Regions from separate parts of the Homo sapiens genome. Here region 1 is linked to region 2. Evidence: promoter capture Hi-C in 16 types of primary human blood cells and fetal thymus (Javierre and others, 2016). All regions are on one chromosome and are shown on one strand. Each heading gives the region's core, a stretch centred on a gene start or on the middle of the fragment in contact. The rest is flanking DNA. Distances are from core to core; before and after follow the strand shown.

Region 1 (7,155 bases), core at 1,431-3,930, 240 kb after region 2:
CTGCCAAGGCCCCACAGAGCCCAAAACAGAAGGGGGCTGCCCCAGCCCAGCAGAGCACAGAGTTTCTGGAGCTCCCATCCACAGATGCAGGAGGGGGTACTGATGGTAACCCCCATGTGGATTTGAGGGCAGCAGTCCCTGGCCTCACCCTAGCCAGCCTGGGTGGCTCCCTAGCCCCAAGAGGCCAGGAAGGGCTGGAAGGCAGGGCCTGCAGGTGCTCCCCGCCCTGAGACCCAGGCCCCAAATCAGCAATAATGAACAAACCCTTGGCCCAGCCTGGGCTGGTGACCTGGGCACCAGAGACCTTGCATCCCTCCTCATCCTAGGAGGCCCCTAGGGGTGCCCCATCTCAGTGTCCCCTGAACTCTTTATTTGCCTAATTTATATATATATATATGAGATATATAAATATATATAAAATAGCTATTTTGCTTAAATTTCTACAGTATGTAAAAGTGAAAAAATGATGAAGACGGGTGCACCTGTCTGAGTTTGGCCCTCATGTGAGCTGTGCCCTTCCCTCTCCTCATGCCCCCTTCCAGCGGCTTCTGCCAACCATGGGGGGCTGGACCACCATGGCCACTGACCCAGCCCCTCAGAATCCCACACTCCAATCCTTTCCATTTCAGTTTAGTCCTAAAAGTTCATCACAGGGTCTTTCTTTCTACTCCAGGACTGGTTTTGTTTTTATATATATAAAAAAAAAAAGTGAAAACACCAATGTGTGAAATGCCTTACAATGCCCACTGGAGAGGCGGGGCGGGGTGGGGCAGGATGGCCCCACTGGGGCTCCTACAGAGCTGTGGAATGTACCTCTCCCCAACACTGTTTTGTTAGCGAGCACCTTTTGACCAGTAATAAAAAACCTTGGCTTTGGAGTTTTCCACTGCCCTGTCCCTCAGTCTCTGTGTATCTGGGTGGAGGGGACTAATGTAGAAGGACAGGTGATAGCCTACAAGGTGGCATGGGGGTAGAGCATGGGGTGAAACAGCAGGGGGGTCAGGGGAACAGAGGAGGTAGGAGACCCAGGAAACTGCCCAAAGGGCTGGGGAGAGGGTCGCAGCTCTGCCAAAGGCTGCCCTGATGCTGCGGCCACAGGGCTGGCCTGGACCTAGCTCTGCTCTTTGGAAGGGCAGTGCTTTAGCCAGGTGGAGACCACCAGCAGCCCCCTCCCGTGTTTCAGTTCCTGGAGCTGTCTAGTGGGAGGCCTCCAGGGGGAAGGCCAGTCCTGGTGAGTTCCATATCACTTGACAGCAGCAGCCTGGGCTGCACTTCCAGGTGAGGGATGGGTAGAGCAGGGCACCCCAGGGGCATCAGGGCCAGCGCTCTCACCATCTGCCTCCAACCCCAGCCCTGTGGGATCTGGGGCTGGCCCTGCACAGCTCCTTCCCTGGCTAGGCTTCCCCATCTGTGGGGAGGTGGCCGCTGGCGGGGGGTCCCGGCTGAGGAGCTGGTGGGGCAGGTCTCACTGGAATAGAGGTGAGGCGGAACTTCAGGATGCACCTGACCCAGAGGGCAAGGGAGGGGACAAAGGCCAGTCTACTGAGGCAAAGAGAGGGCTCTGAAGAGCTTGAACAGAAATTGACATCAGGGCAATGTTTTAGAAAGACCACTCTGACCAGCAGGACACAAGATCAACCTACACTCAGTGGTCTCACATACACCAGCCATCACTGAATAGAAAATGTAATAGAAAAAAAGATCTACGACATAGGCCATCTGACAAAAAGACACAAAACCACAAGGTGAAAGACCTTTATGGACATGACAGAGAGGACCTGAGTTAAGAGGGAAAATACATCTTCATAGCTAGGTTCACATTCAGTTATGTTAGTCCCAAACCTACAAATTCAACATGATCCCTATTAAAATCCTACCAATATAGTTCAAAAGCTTGACAAGTTGATTGTGACATTTATATGAGAGAATAATTAAAAAAAAAAAAAATAGGGCCAGGTGCAGTGGCTCACGCCTGTTATCCCAGCACTTTAGGAGGCCAAGGCGGACAGATCACTTGAGGCCAGGAGTTTGAGACCAGCCTGGCCAACATGGCAAAACCCCGTCTCTACTAAGAATACAAAAATTAGCAGGGTATGGTGGCGCACACCTGTAATCCCAGCTAGTTGGGAGGCTGAGGCAGAGAATCGCTTGAACCTGGGAGGCGGAGGCTGCAGTGAGTGGAGATCGCACCACTGCACTCCAGCAAGAACTCAGGGGACGATGAGGGGACTATGTGGACTTGACCTGCAGATGCCCAAACAAGCTGGAAGCCTCCTGGGGACACAAAGCTTCCTTTTTCTCCACTGCTCTCTGATCACCATCTGGCTGCCATGCAGTGTATTTGTTGATGGTCTGCCCTCCCTACCCCAATGGACTGAGCTTCATGAGACTGTGAGCTTCATGATCTTATACGTTGTAGCATCCCACTGCCTGGCACATAGTCAGTGCTCAATGAATAGCTGTCGAAAGAATCAACACCAGGCCAGGAAGACCAGCTAAAGCAAACGCTCAGTGGGACAACACCTGAGCAGTGGGGGGCGTGACTGCAGTACCAAGTTGGGAGGAGACTCAGAAATGGAACTGGTGAAGAGCTGAGCCCAGGGACCCAGGAAACTCCTGCCTCCCCCAAACTCTAGAGTTCAAATTGCTGCTCCTGACAGACTGTGGGGTAGGAGTCAGATTCTGTAAGTGGGGAAGAGAAGGCCTGAGGTTCTCTCATCTCCAGGGACATGGCTCAGCATGAAGGGAGTTGGGAGGAGAGGACAACGGAGAGACACATTTCAAAGTGGAACAGAGAACAGGACAAGAGACAAACTCAATGCTATTTAAGTTATTGTTTTTATGAAGCTAGCCAGCATGCATAACTTCAGCAACAAAGCCTAATAAAGACAGTGTGAAAATAAAGGGAATATATAGTTCGGTCTCATGGAAGAAAAGAATTTTCATAAATCCAAACAAGAGAACAGCAAATAGAATCTAGCCACATAGAAAAGACTGAACCCCAAGTTGGTAAGCCCATGCCCAAATTAGGTTTACTGCAGAAATGCAAGAATGAAAATGGCTCAATGTTGTGAAGCTTTCCATGGTAAATCATTCATTACATCAGCCAGTCGAAGGATTTCTTCTTCTGGCAATATGGTAAACTAGGTTCCCAGAAAATACTCCTTTGTGGAAAACTAGACAGGTTGGATAAAATTTTTTAAATGTTAAATGCATCTATCAACTGGAAACAATATGAGGAATACTCAAGCCAAAAACTAAGTGGGTATGAAAACCTGGAGAGGTAAGAAAAGGTCTGAAATATTTTATGTTGCAATTATTTACAAAGCCCAATGAGCTTAACTGTAAGTTTTCACTGCCTCAAAAGAGCCTCCAAAGGTAGGGCATATAATAGGAAATTTGGGGCCCCCAAGGGCTATACCTTCAATGTAATGGTGAATCCAAAATAAAATACAAGAAAAATCACTTGTCTTAAAGGTTGGTCCTGAGCAGAGAAAAACAAAATCCCCCTAAGAATTTGTAATCAGGAGTGGACCCTCAGTTAGTTTTGCAGCCCAAATACACACTACCTGAATGGCTCAATGAAACCTCTGACAGAGAACGTAACATGGTCCGAAGTTGGCAATGTTCCCAGTCACCTGGGGGAAGCAAACAAGTCCTCTCTGGAAGATATCCCCTTCATTCTAGGCCTTAGAGAACCTCAGATATGAAACTGCAGGGAAAATGAGCAGCTCACAGTATAAAATCTCCAAACACACAAGGAAACAAGCACCCATGAGCAAGGGCAACCAGAAATAACAGATAGCAGAATCAGACAGAAAACTCTTCCACACAGCAAAATTATCAGATACAGAAGAGAAAATAAGCATGTTTAATATATTTCTAGAAACAGAAAGGCAGCTTGAAAATAAGTGAAGAGTAAATATTCAAAAATACTAAACAAATTTCAAGAAAATGTTTTAAAATCACTAAAAATAATTCAGTGAATAGTTTTACAACAGATTACACAGCTGAAGAGAGTATTAGTGAAGCAGAAGTGAGATCTGAAGAAATTTGGAATACAACACAGAGACACAAAGAGGTGAAAAATATCAAAGGGACGTTAAGACATGAAAGATAAGATCCCACATATGTCTGATCTATTTCAGAAGGAGAAAAGAATTTTTTATGGAACAGAAGCAATCTTGGAAGAGTTATGGCTAAAAGTTTTTCAAGAAATCATGAAAAGCACCAATATACAAAGTTAAGCTCAACAAATCCTAATTATGGTAAATAAAAAGATATCCACAGCTAAATACAACATAGTGAAACTGCAAGATTACTAAGACAACAAAATCTTACAAGCAGATTTTTTTAAATTACCTTCAAACAGCATAAATTAGGCTGGGTACAGTGGCTCACACCTGTCATACCAGCACTTTGGGAGGCTGAGGCAGAAGGATCACTTGAGACCAGCAGTTGGAGACCATCATGGGAAAACAGAAGAGACCCCATCTCTACAAAAAAATAAAAATAAAAACTAAATTAGGCAAAGTGGTATGTGTCTGTAGTCCTAGCTTCCCAGGAGACTGAGGCTGGAGGATTGCTTGAGCCCAAGAATTTGAGGCTGCAGTGAGCTATGATCACATCACTGCACTCCAGCCCAAGCAACAGAGTGAGATCCTGAAAATTCATCTCCAAAGGAAGGCCAATTAGACCGAGAACAGATTAGACTGAGAGCCTCCAAAGGAAGTCAGAAGACAATGAAGTATTACCTCCAAAATAGAGAAGAAAATGTTAGTGTTCTCCTCAGTCAAAATATCTTTTCCACAGGTCACGTGTGGTGGTTTATGCCTATAATCCCAACACTTGGGGAGGCCAAGGTGGAATGATCACTTGAGGTCAGGAATTTGAGAACAGCCTGGGCAATATAGCAAGACTCCATCTCTACAAAAATAAAATAATTAACCAGGCATGGTGGCATATGCCTGTAGTCCCAGCTACTTGGGAGGCTGAGGAGGGAGGATAACTTGAGCCTAGAAGTTCGAGACTGCAGTGAGCTACACAATCATCCTGTCTCTGTCTGTCTCTGTCTCTATCTCTCTCTCTATATATATGTGTGTGTGTGTGTGTGTGTGTGTGTGTGTGTGTATGTGTGTATAACTAAATTTTATTTAGCATATTAAACAGTATATTAAATTTTTTTAAAAAAAATATATAGTGTCATGTGGAGTGAGACTATGATGAGTTAAGATTATGTAAAACTTATCAGGTAATCATTGAAGGAATAGCAATACTAAATTATTTCCAAAGCAGTAGAAGAAACACATTGAATGCAGGGGGGAAAAAGCTCAGTAAATCTAAAGAAGGCAAGAGAGGAGAGGAAAAAAGAATGTAGAATAAAAATCACAAATAAGAGAATACAAATACATCAATAATACATCAGTAATTACATAAAATTTAAGTAATCTAAATGCTTCAAAGAAAAAAATATGGACTAAAAATAAAATCCAGCTATATGCTATTTACAAGAATACACCTAAAACATAAATATATAAACTAAACAGACTCTAGGGCAAAAAATATTACTAGATGTCAACTACTAGAATTTTAAGGTCATTTTGTAGTGATAGAAGGTAAAACTCATAAATTTCTAAAACTCTTATGCACCTAATAACATCTCAAAATGTATAAAGTAAAATGGATAAAGATAAATCCACTATCATAATGGAAGATTGTAATTTATTTCTCCCAGTAATTAGAGCTCAGACAACAAATTATGTTAATTACTATGTAATTAACAAACTTGATGTCATGGACACATATAGGGAATTAAATGTGACTGCAGAATACATATTTTTGAAATGCACATGGAACTTTTATGAACATTAACCATATATTTAATCCAGTCATAAGGCCTCAGCAAATTTCAAAGGACCACATTCTCAGACTGCAATGAAGACAGTTCAAAATCAATGACAAAAATAAAACTGGGAGGAAAATACAGGCTAGAACATTAAGAAATATATTTTGAAATAACTCATAGGTCAATGAAGAAAACAACAGAAATCAGAAAATACAGTTAAAAAAAACTATATATTAAAACATACAGAATACAGGTAAAGCAGTACCTTGAGGAAAATTTACAACATTTAAGACTCATGTAAAAGACTAAAAAATTTTTAAACATCCAATTTGAGTAAGAAAATGAACATTAGAAAAAACTCAAGAAAAGGACAAGAATGGGCCGGGCGAGGTGGCTCACGCCTGTAATCCCAGCACTTTGGGAGGCCGAGGTGGGCGGATCACGAGGTCAGGAGATCGAGACTATCCTGGCAAACACGGTGAAACCCCGTCTCTACTAAAAAATATACAAAAAATTAGCCGGGCGTGTTGGTGGGCACCTGTAGTCCCAGCTACTCGGGTGGCTGAGGCAGGAGAATGGCGTGAACCTGGGAGGCGGAGCTTGCAGTGAGCCGAGATCGCGACTCTGCACTCCAGCCTGGGCGACAGAGCAAGACTCTGTCTCAAAAAAAAAGAAAAACAGAAAAAAGAAAGAAAAGGACAAGAATGAAAATAAAGATCAAATATCAGATATTCATTAAATAGGGCAATAATAAAAAGAACGAAGAAAGCTGAGGTTGGGCCGGGTGCAGTGGCTCACGCCTGTAATCCCAGCACTTTGGGAGGCCGAGGCGGGTGGATCACGAGGTCAGGAGATCGAGACCATCCTGGCTAACACAGTGAAACCCCTCTCTACTAAAAATACAAAAACAAAATTAGCCGGGCATCGTGGCGGGCACCTGTAGTCCCAGCTACTCAGGAGGCTGAGGTGGGAGAATGGCATGCACCCAGGAGGCGGAGTTTGCAGTGAGCCGAGATTGCACCACTGCACTCCAGCCTGGGCAACAGAGCGAGACTCTGTCTCGAAAAAACAACAAAAAAAAGAAAATCGCTTGAACCTGGGAGGCAGAGGTTGCAGTGAACCAAGATTGTGCCACTGCACTCCAGCCTGGGCAACAAGAGTGAAACTCTACCTCAAAAAAAAAGAAAGGGGACATAAATACAGACACCAGAGACATTTTAAAGTAAGAATATATTATTAGAACTTGCCCTGTGGAGACACCTAAAAAATAAATAAGGAATATTATGAACAACTTGGACAATAAATTTGAA
Region 2 (7,405 bases), core at 1,450-3,949:
TAGATCACACCTTTCAAGGCCAAGTGGCAGTCTTCACCAGGCACGAGAAATGAGGAGCCAAAGTTTTGTTTCCCTGCTTAATATATTTCAGTGGCTATCCACTGTGAGGATAAGATGGAGCCACTTAGTTTGGCTGTCAAGGCCATTTGTGACCTGGCTCCTGCCTGTCTCTCCAGCCTCTTATTAGGCTTCTCCATGCTCTGAAGGGCCTCAGGTGAACCGAGCCACTTACAGTTCCTTAGGGACAACCTGTCCTCTCCAGCCAGTGGCCTTTGCCCCTGCTGATCTCTCAGTCTCTTTCCTTATGAACCCATCAGATCCTGATCTGGTCCATTCAGCAGAGGACTGCAGAAGTCTGAGGAGCCTTAAGATATCAACTTAAAGGTAACTGTTTTAAGGGAAATCTCCTTAGATCACACCCCTCCCTCACGTTTGACCAACTCTGCTCCAGGCTTTCTTAGCCCTATGTTCTCTCCTTCCTAACACTTACTGAAGACGTAGTTTTGCTCCGATCTGTCTGATTATTTGATTAATGTCTGTCTCCCCAAGAGACTGTGAGCCCTTTAGGGATATGATGGTGTCTGTCTTCACTCCCACTCTATCACCAACTAGTGCCAAGCGCTGTGTCCCCACAAGTAGGTGCTTGATAAATATTTGTTGAATGAAGAAATGACTCCCAACAGCTATGACTCTGCCTTCTGAGAGGTTTTCTGGAAAGAATGAGTTCTCTGGCAGCGTGTCTCCAGAATTCCAGGGAGGGGCTGGGTGGGGATGGGGGTGGTTCTGAGGCTACTAAAGAGAAAGACCAAAGGTTGTATAGGCAAATCCTACCTGCCAATGCCCCAGACTCAAATGCATCAGGCTCATTCCCGGAAGGACAGAGAGGGCTGGCTTGCTACAGAGGTGATATGAAGGGCAAAGAAAAAGCCTCCTGAACCCAGATGGAAGTCTAAATGCTAAGGAATGTTCTGGATCCTCGTCATCAGAAAATCCATAGAGAAGTGAACTGATGTCCCCCCAAACCAGTGCCCAGTGGGTAACGGGAATAGAGGAATGTGCTGTTCATTATAGCCACTAAAAGTCTGCAGAAGTGACAATGCTCTTGCAGGTGAGGGTAGTGATGCGAGGAGTCATTTTCATGCTAGTTAAGAAATATCTATCAGGGCTGGGCACGGTGGCTTAAGCCTATAATCCCAGCACTTTGGAAGGCCGAGGCGGGCAGATCACCTGAGGTCAGGAGTTCAAGACCAGCCTGACCAACATGGTGAAACCCCCGTCTCTACTAAAAATACAAAAATTAGCCAGGCGTGGTGGCATGGGCCTGTAGTCCCAGCTACTCAGGAGGCTGAGACGGGAGAATTGCTTGAACCCGGGAGGCGGAGGCTGCAGTGAGCCAAGATCGTGCCACTGCACTCCAGCCTGGGAGACAGCGTGAGACTCCATCTCAAAAAAAAAAAAAAAAAAAAAAAAAGCAATCTCTATCAGGCACTGTATTAGGTGTTGGAGATACTGAAATGTACAAGACAGGCATGGCCCCTTTTCTCAGGGAGCTCAAAGACTAGTGGGAGAAACAGATAGTAAACAGGCAATTACAGGCAGACAGAGCTTGAAAATAGGATAACAGTACCTACCTTAAAAGGATGTTGTGAAATTAAACGAGATAATCCACGTAAAGAGTTTTCTCAGGGCTTGGCATAGAGTAAGCCCTCTCAAAATGATAACTATTTTTCTCGCTTCTGATAGGGAAGTTAAAATGCAGGGCTCTGTGAAAGGGAAGTGTAAAAAAGATTTCTTCCAGGTCGGAGCCTAGGGAGTCGCAAAGACCACCTGAAGAAATCACAAAAGATCTAAAGAACGTTTAGCTTGAGAGGGAGGAGGAGAAAAAAATAGCAACTCGGTAGCAGTTCAGCTTCACCACTTTACAGCCTATGAAGTATTTGGCTTCCCTCATCTGGTTCGATCTTCAAAGCAACCTAATCAGACCGGCGTCTAGAGTTAATATTTCCATTTTACAAAAGAGGAAAGTGAGACACAGCGCGGAAAAGGACTTGTTCAGAACGAGTCATAAAGCAAAGAAGCCGACCTTTATGGTCCATTATGTGTGGGAAAAATGAACAAACACCGCGGGGCGTTCGTGAAATACTAAGTTATAAACATGGAACAAAGTCCAAGAGTTAACGAGAGCGAAGCATCACTTCTAGGGGTGGGCCGGGTAGGTTTCCTAGGGGAGCTGGCATTGGAATAGGCTTCTTCGCCTGCTTAGTGTCAGGACCCCCAGGGTTTTACCTCTCTCCTTCAGGCGGGTGGGCGGGTTCGCTCAGGAAGTAGCCGCTTGGGGAAGCCTTAGGCAAGGTTCTTCGGGAGAGAGACCCGTCATGATCCCGCAGCCTCAATCCCCGCTGGCCTAACGCTTTGGTTTCCATAGCAATGGGCTCGTCGCAGAAAGGAATAGCCTGTGCCGGGTCTTCAGAGAAATCCTGGCCTCGGCTCCACGCCCCTGAGCAGCCCCACCCTGGCTCAACCTGTTACCCGCCCTGCCGGCAAGCCGGGGTCACTGCAGTCCCCGTGGCGAAGCAGGGTCAGCTCAGCTCACCGCACCCCACTCCATCCAGCCCTGCCCATCTCTACGGCAACGGGCCGGGTCGCACCAGGGCTGCAGCCGAGAGACAGTCTCACCGCTTCCGTAGCCGCCCGGGCTCTGTGCGCATGTGCGACACTCCCTCCCCGGCCCCGCCCCCTTATGCGTCTCCCAGGCAACGCGCCGCGCGGGGCTCCAGGTTCCGCCCAGGGACTAACTCCAGGTCTGCGCGCGTCCAACGAGCACGGCTCTCAACCGGCCTCCTGGCGCCCAACGACCATGGCTTCCAACCGGCCTCCGTGCGCCCAACGACCATGACTCCCAACCGGCCTCCAGTTTCCAACTGTTTCTCGAACAGGGAAGCCGCCATGACACAGCTGACTACGCCCTTGGTCACAGGGGACCTGAGATCCTCCACGATTTACGGGACCGGCGCCACCTCGGGCTCGAACCACCCTCTCGATAGGGCCGCCGCTAAGTAATCGGCGTAGGGGTTCAGCCGCACATCTCCTTCCCGCGCCGCGGACCGAGCAGTCGTTGGTGCTCTTCAGGTGCGGCCTGGGTGCCCAGAGCCTTCGTTAGACTCTCGGACCCGCAAGGGAGCCCGAACTCTTTCAGACTCGCTCTCCCTCAGCCGGACCTCGGCCCTTTTTCACACCCCAGGGGAGTCTGGATTTCTCATAGTCCTGGGCACCAGCCCCTTCCCAGTCTAGCTCTTGGGACTCCCTGAAGCCGGAACTCCCTCGCCTGGACTCCCGGGAGAACCTGGAATCCCCATCTCCAGTCCACATTTTCTCAGAATCTGTCCTAGCCCTTCAGTCTCCCAGGCATGACATCGTGTGGTCCCAGCGCCCTAGGTGGTGAGCTGTGACTCTCCTTAGAGCCTGGCGAGGCCGAGGTCCTCCCCAGCTCGAACCCATCCCACACTCCCCTTCTCAGCCTCTGTGTTCCCCAGTGGTCCTGGAAAAGCCCCCAGTTCCCTCTGCCTGGCCCCAATCCTCACAAACCCAATTACCCACGCTCCTTTCCATTCCATAACCCCCATCACTGCATCCTCCAGGCTCCCATCCATGGAGGACTTGAGGTGGAAAGCAATTTGGTTCAAAATAACCATTATTTATTACTTGAAAGGGAATATTTCCAGTCGTTGCCAGCCTCCTCCCCTTCTAGTATTGGTAAATTTTTTGCACCACTGAGTGGGTGAAGAGTTTTATGCGTCTTTAAATGTTTTAAGGATTTTTTTAAAAAAACAAAAAACTCTCAGGATTTGGGGGACTTTTGTGTTTGAGCATCTTGATCTCTAAACCAGCTTTTTCCATCACCTCACACCTAGGCTATGCATAGAGGTCAGAAAAATGTAAATGAGAGATTGAGAAGTTGGATTGTTCATACTAGTTTGTAAATATGAAAACATTCACAACACTCCAGTTCCAAATAGGCTGAAAATGCATTAGAAAAACTAGTCCTTCAATATTTTTTATCCTTCTACAGTTGTCTTTTTTGACCCAATTATAAAAGTAGTGTACACTTATAGAAAAATGAGGACAGGCATGGTGGCTCACGCTTGTATTCCCACCACTTCACTTTGAAACGCTGAGGCAGTTGGATCACCTGAGCTCAGGAGTTCGAGACCAGCCTGGGCAACAGGGTGAAACCCCATCTCTACCAAAAATACAAAAAATTAGCCGGGCTTGGTGGCTCACCTGTGGTCCCAGTTACTCAGGAGGCTGAGGTGGGAGGATCACTTGAGCCTGGGATGTGGAGGTTGCAGTGAGCTGAGATTGTGCCACTACTCTCCAACCTGGGGGACAGAGTGAGACCCCGTCTCGAAGAAATAAAAAGAAGACAAGACAGGCCAGCAGCATAAGTGGCTAGGGACAATCACTGTTAACATTTTGGTGTATTTTGATCAGAATCCATTCATATATATATATATATATATATATATATATGTTACAACATGCTTATACTTAAAAAAGATACATCACAAAAGTTCACTTTTTAGTAACCTGCTTTTTTCTCCCATCTAATATACCACCCGTCTATGTTTCATACACAATTACATGTATTTTATTTTATGACATACCAAAATTTATTCAATTGCTTCCATACTGTAGATTTTGTTTCCGCATTTTAGAAAGAAAATATGAACAATTTTTTTTTTGAGACAGAGTCTAGCTCTGTGGCCCAGGCCCGAGTGCAGTGGCACAGTCTTGGCTCACTGCAACCTCTGCCTCCTGGGTTCCAGTGATTCTCCTGCCTTAGCCTCCTGATTAGCTGGGATTACAGGTGCTCACCACTACACCCGGCTAATTTTTGTATTTTTAGTAGAGATGGGGTTTCACCATGTTGGCCAGGCTGGTCTCGAACTCCTGACCTCAAGTGATCTGCCCACCTTGGCCTCCCAAAGTGCTGGGATTATAGGCCTCAGCCACTGTGCCTGATCCTGAAGAATTATTTTTAAATGGGCAAAACCATTTAAAGGTATTTATTTGTAAGACTACTTCATGGTGTAACCAAATTATCAAAAAGTGAAAATGCAGTGCTTAGAAGTATATCCACTCTTCAGCATTTCCTCATTTTGACCAGATTGTTATATTTTCACCTGGAGTACCTAGCTCCATTCTACCCCACCCCACCCCATGTTTCACCTCACCTTTCAGAGTCTCCTAAAACCCCTGTCCACCCCACACCTCCCTATTCTAAATTTTCCCCAAACCTTCTTCTGGAATTCCCCTATTAACCAGCCTAACATCTGTCCAAACTCTTACTTTTATTTCTCCCTGCTCTGATCTATACTCCCCCAAGCCCCCGCCTCCCAGATCCCCTTTAGGCACAGGGTCTAGAGCAAGTGCTCCCCAAGCTAAACACCTCTCAAATTCATCCTTCGAACCCTACTCTACAACTTTTACTCCTCCCCTCTAAGACCCCTCTCTCCCATTTCATCCTTAAGAAGGATCATCAAGATGACTGCTTTTGGCTGGGTGGGCATGGTGGCTCTCACGCATGTAATCCTACCACTTTGGGAGCCCAAGGCAGGCATATCTCTTGAGGTCAGGAGTTCGAGACTAGCCTGGCCAACATGGTGAAACCCCGTCTCTACTAAAAATACAAAAATTAGCCAGGTGTGGTGGCGCATGCCTGTAATCCTAGCTGCTCGGGAGGCTGAGGCAGGAGAATCGCTTGAACCCGGGAGGTGGAGGTTGCAGTGAGCCGAGATTGTGCCACTGCATTCCAGCCTGGGAGACAGAATGAAACTCCATCTCAAAAAAACAAAAGACTGCTTTGGAAGATGGTTCTGAGTTCCTGATAACCCTTCTCTTGTGGACTGCACTGGGGCCCTTTTACAAACACAGAATTGCTTTTCTTCTGGGTGTCCATGAAACACCCCTTTAGCATATCTTTCCACAAGAAGAAACTGTGGTTACTCCCTTGCTTCTCTGAAAATTGTAACAGAGCTGCACTTGTCCTAAGATACCCGGGGAAGCCTCAGCCACTCCCCCAGGACCCTGTCAAATCTGCTCTGGCCCTGGCCTCAGCCATCTGTAACCTGTGTCACCTTTCCCTCCCCGCTCCAGCTTAATGATTCCAGTGAAGCAGCAGTGAAAAATTTTTTACTCATATAAAAAGAGCAGTTTATCTTGGGTGGGTTTTTATGACAAGCTCATAGCACAACGACTCCATGAGGTGCAGGTAAAGTAGCCACAAGCTTTTGCATTAGAGGGTGTTAGTGGCTTGACCCATATTCATTTCATTCTCTCTATATCCTGGGGGATCATAAAGGTGATAGGAAGTCCCCAAGGTGCTCTAAGGCAGGCCCCGTTTTACAGAGGAGGCAATTCACACTCAGGGTTACTGACTTGCCCAAGGTGTCACACCTGTTCCTAGGCTAAGGAGGCTAGAAAGACTCCATGTCTCTTGGTTTTGTTTTTGTTTTTGTTTTTCCTGAAAGCACATTATCTCTCTAGGGAACCCATGAATGGATTCTTATTTTCTCCCATACAAAGTCTTGGGTTCTAGGCTGGGCGCGGTGGCTCATGCCTGTAATCCCAGCACTTTGTGGGAGGCAGGACGGTCACTTGAGGTTAGGAGTTTGAAATCAGCCTAGTCAATGTGGCGAAGCCCCGTCTCTACTAAAAATACAAAACTGATCTGGGCATGGTGGTGGGTGCCTGTAATACCAGCTACATGAGAGGCTGAGACATGAGCATTGCTTGAACCGGGTGGTGAAGGTTGCAGTGAGCTGTGATAGTACTCCAGCCTGGGCAACAGAGCAAGACTCCGTCTCAAAAAAAAAAACAAAAACAAAAAAACAAACAAGCAAAAATAAATAAATAAAACCCCCAAAAAACTAAGGTCTTGGGTCCTAGAGTTTGAATCAGCATTAACAGCATCTTGTCAGTTTTTTCCTTTGGGGATTATCCCCATTTTCCAGATGAGAACTGAGGCTCTTCTCCCACTTTTTGCTTATGGACAGGTAAGAGTTTGACTCAGGCTTACTCAAAAGCCTGAGTGCTGTCACCTACTGTTCCCATAGACCCTAATTGATGAACTCATTAAACCTGTCCTTAGGGCCTGCTTGGGACAGCTACTGTGTTGGGTGCTAGGAAGAGACACATGAAAAAGATGGACACCAATAACATACTCATTTTTTCAAACAGAGCAGGAAGCCCAGGGTTGAGCTTCTGCCCCTTCTTGACTCTGTTGACTTCTCTCCATGTTCCAGGGTCAAGTCTGGATGGGCCCACAGGATTCTAACATCAAAAACAGTTGGAGATCCTTAAGAGATGGTGCCAGATCCTCTTGAAGGTCACAAAGACAAAAGCA

What was found. Contacts are between HindIII fragments. The CHiCAGO score rates a contact against its expected background, and 5 or more counts as called.
Region 1: a fragment that was not itself captured here is called in contact with the fragment with the promoter of DUSP18 in region 2 in 1 of 17 cell types (endothelial precursors); the score reaches 8.0 in endothelial precursors.

The regions. Positions count from the first base shown.
Region 1 is chr22:30,906,936-30,914,090 of GRCh38, forward strand. LOC107985544 (a long non-coding RNA gene) reads right to left here. Exons shown (of 3, transcript NR_146603.1): 2 at 4,363-4,496. It overlaps OSBP2 (oxysterol binding protein 2), which reads left to right. Exons shown (of 14, transcript NM_030758.4): 14 at 1-878. Among named protein-coding and RNA genes, the nearest start is that of MORC2-AS1, 12 kb to the right of the region's middle. The HindIII fragment of the contact is 788 bases long and covers 2,287-3,074 here.
Region 2 is chr22:30,665,176-30,672,580 of GRCh38, forward strand. It overlaps DUSP18 (dual specificity phosphatase 18), which reads right to left and starts at 2,700. Exons shown (of 2, transcript NM_152511.5): 1 at 2,287-2,700. It also overlaps a transcript of SLC35E4 not described here. RefSeq lists an enhancer at 2,798-3,187. The HindIII fragment of the contact is 6,661 bases long and covers 1-6,285 here.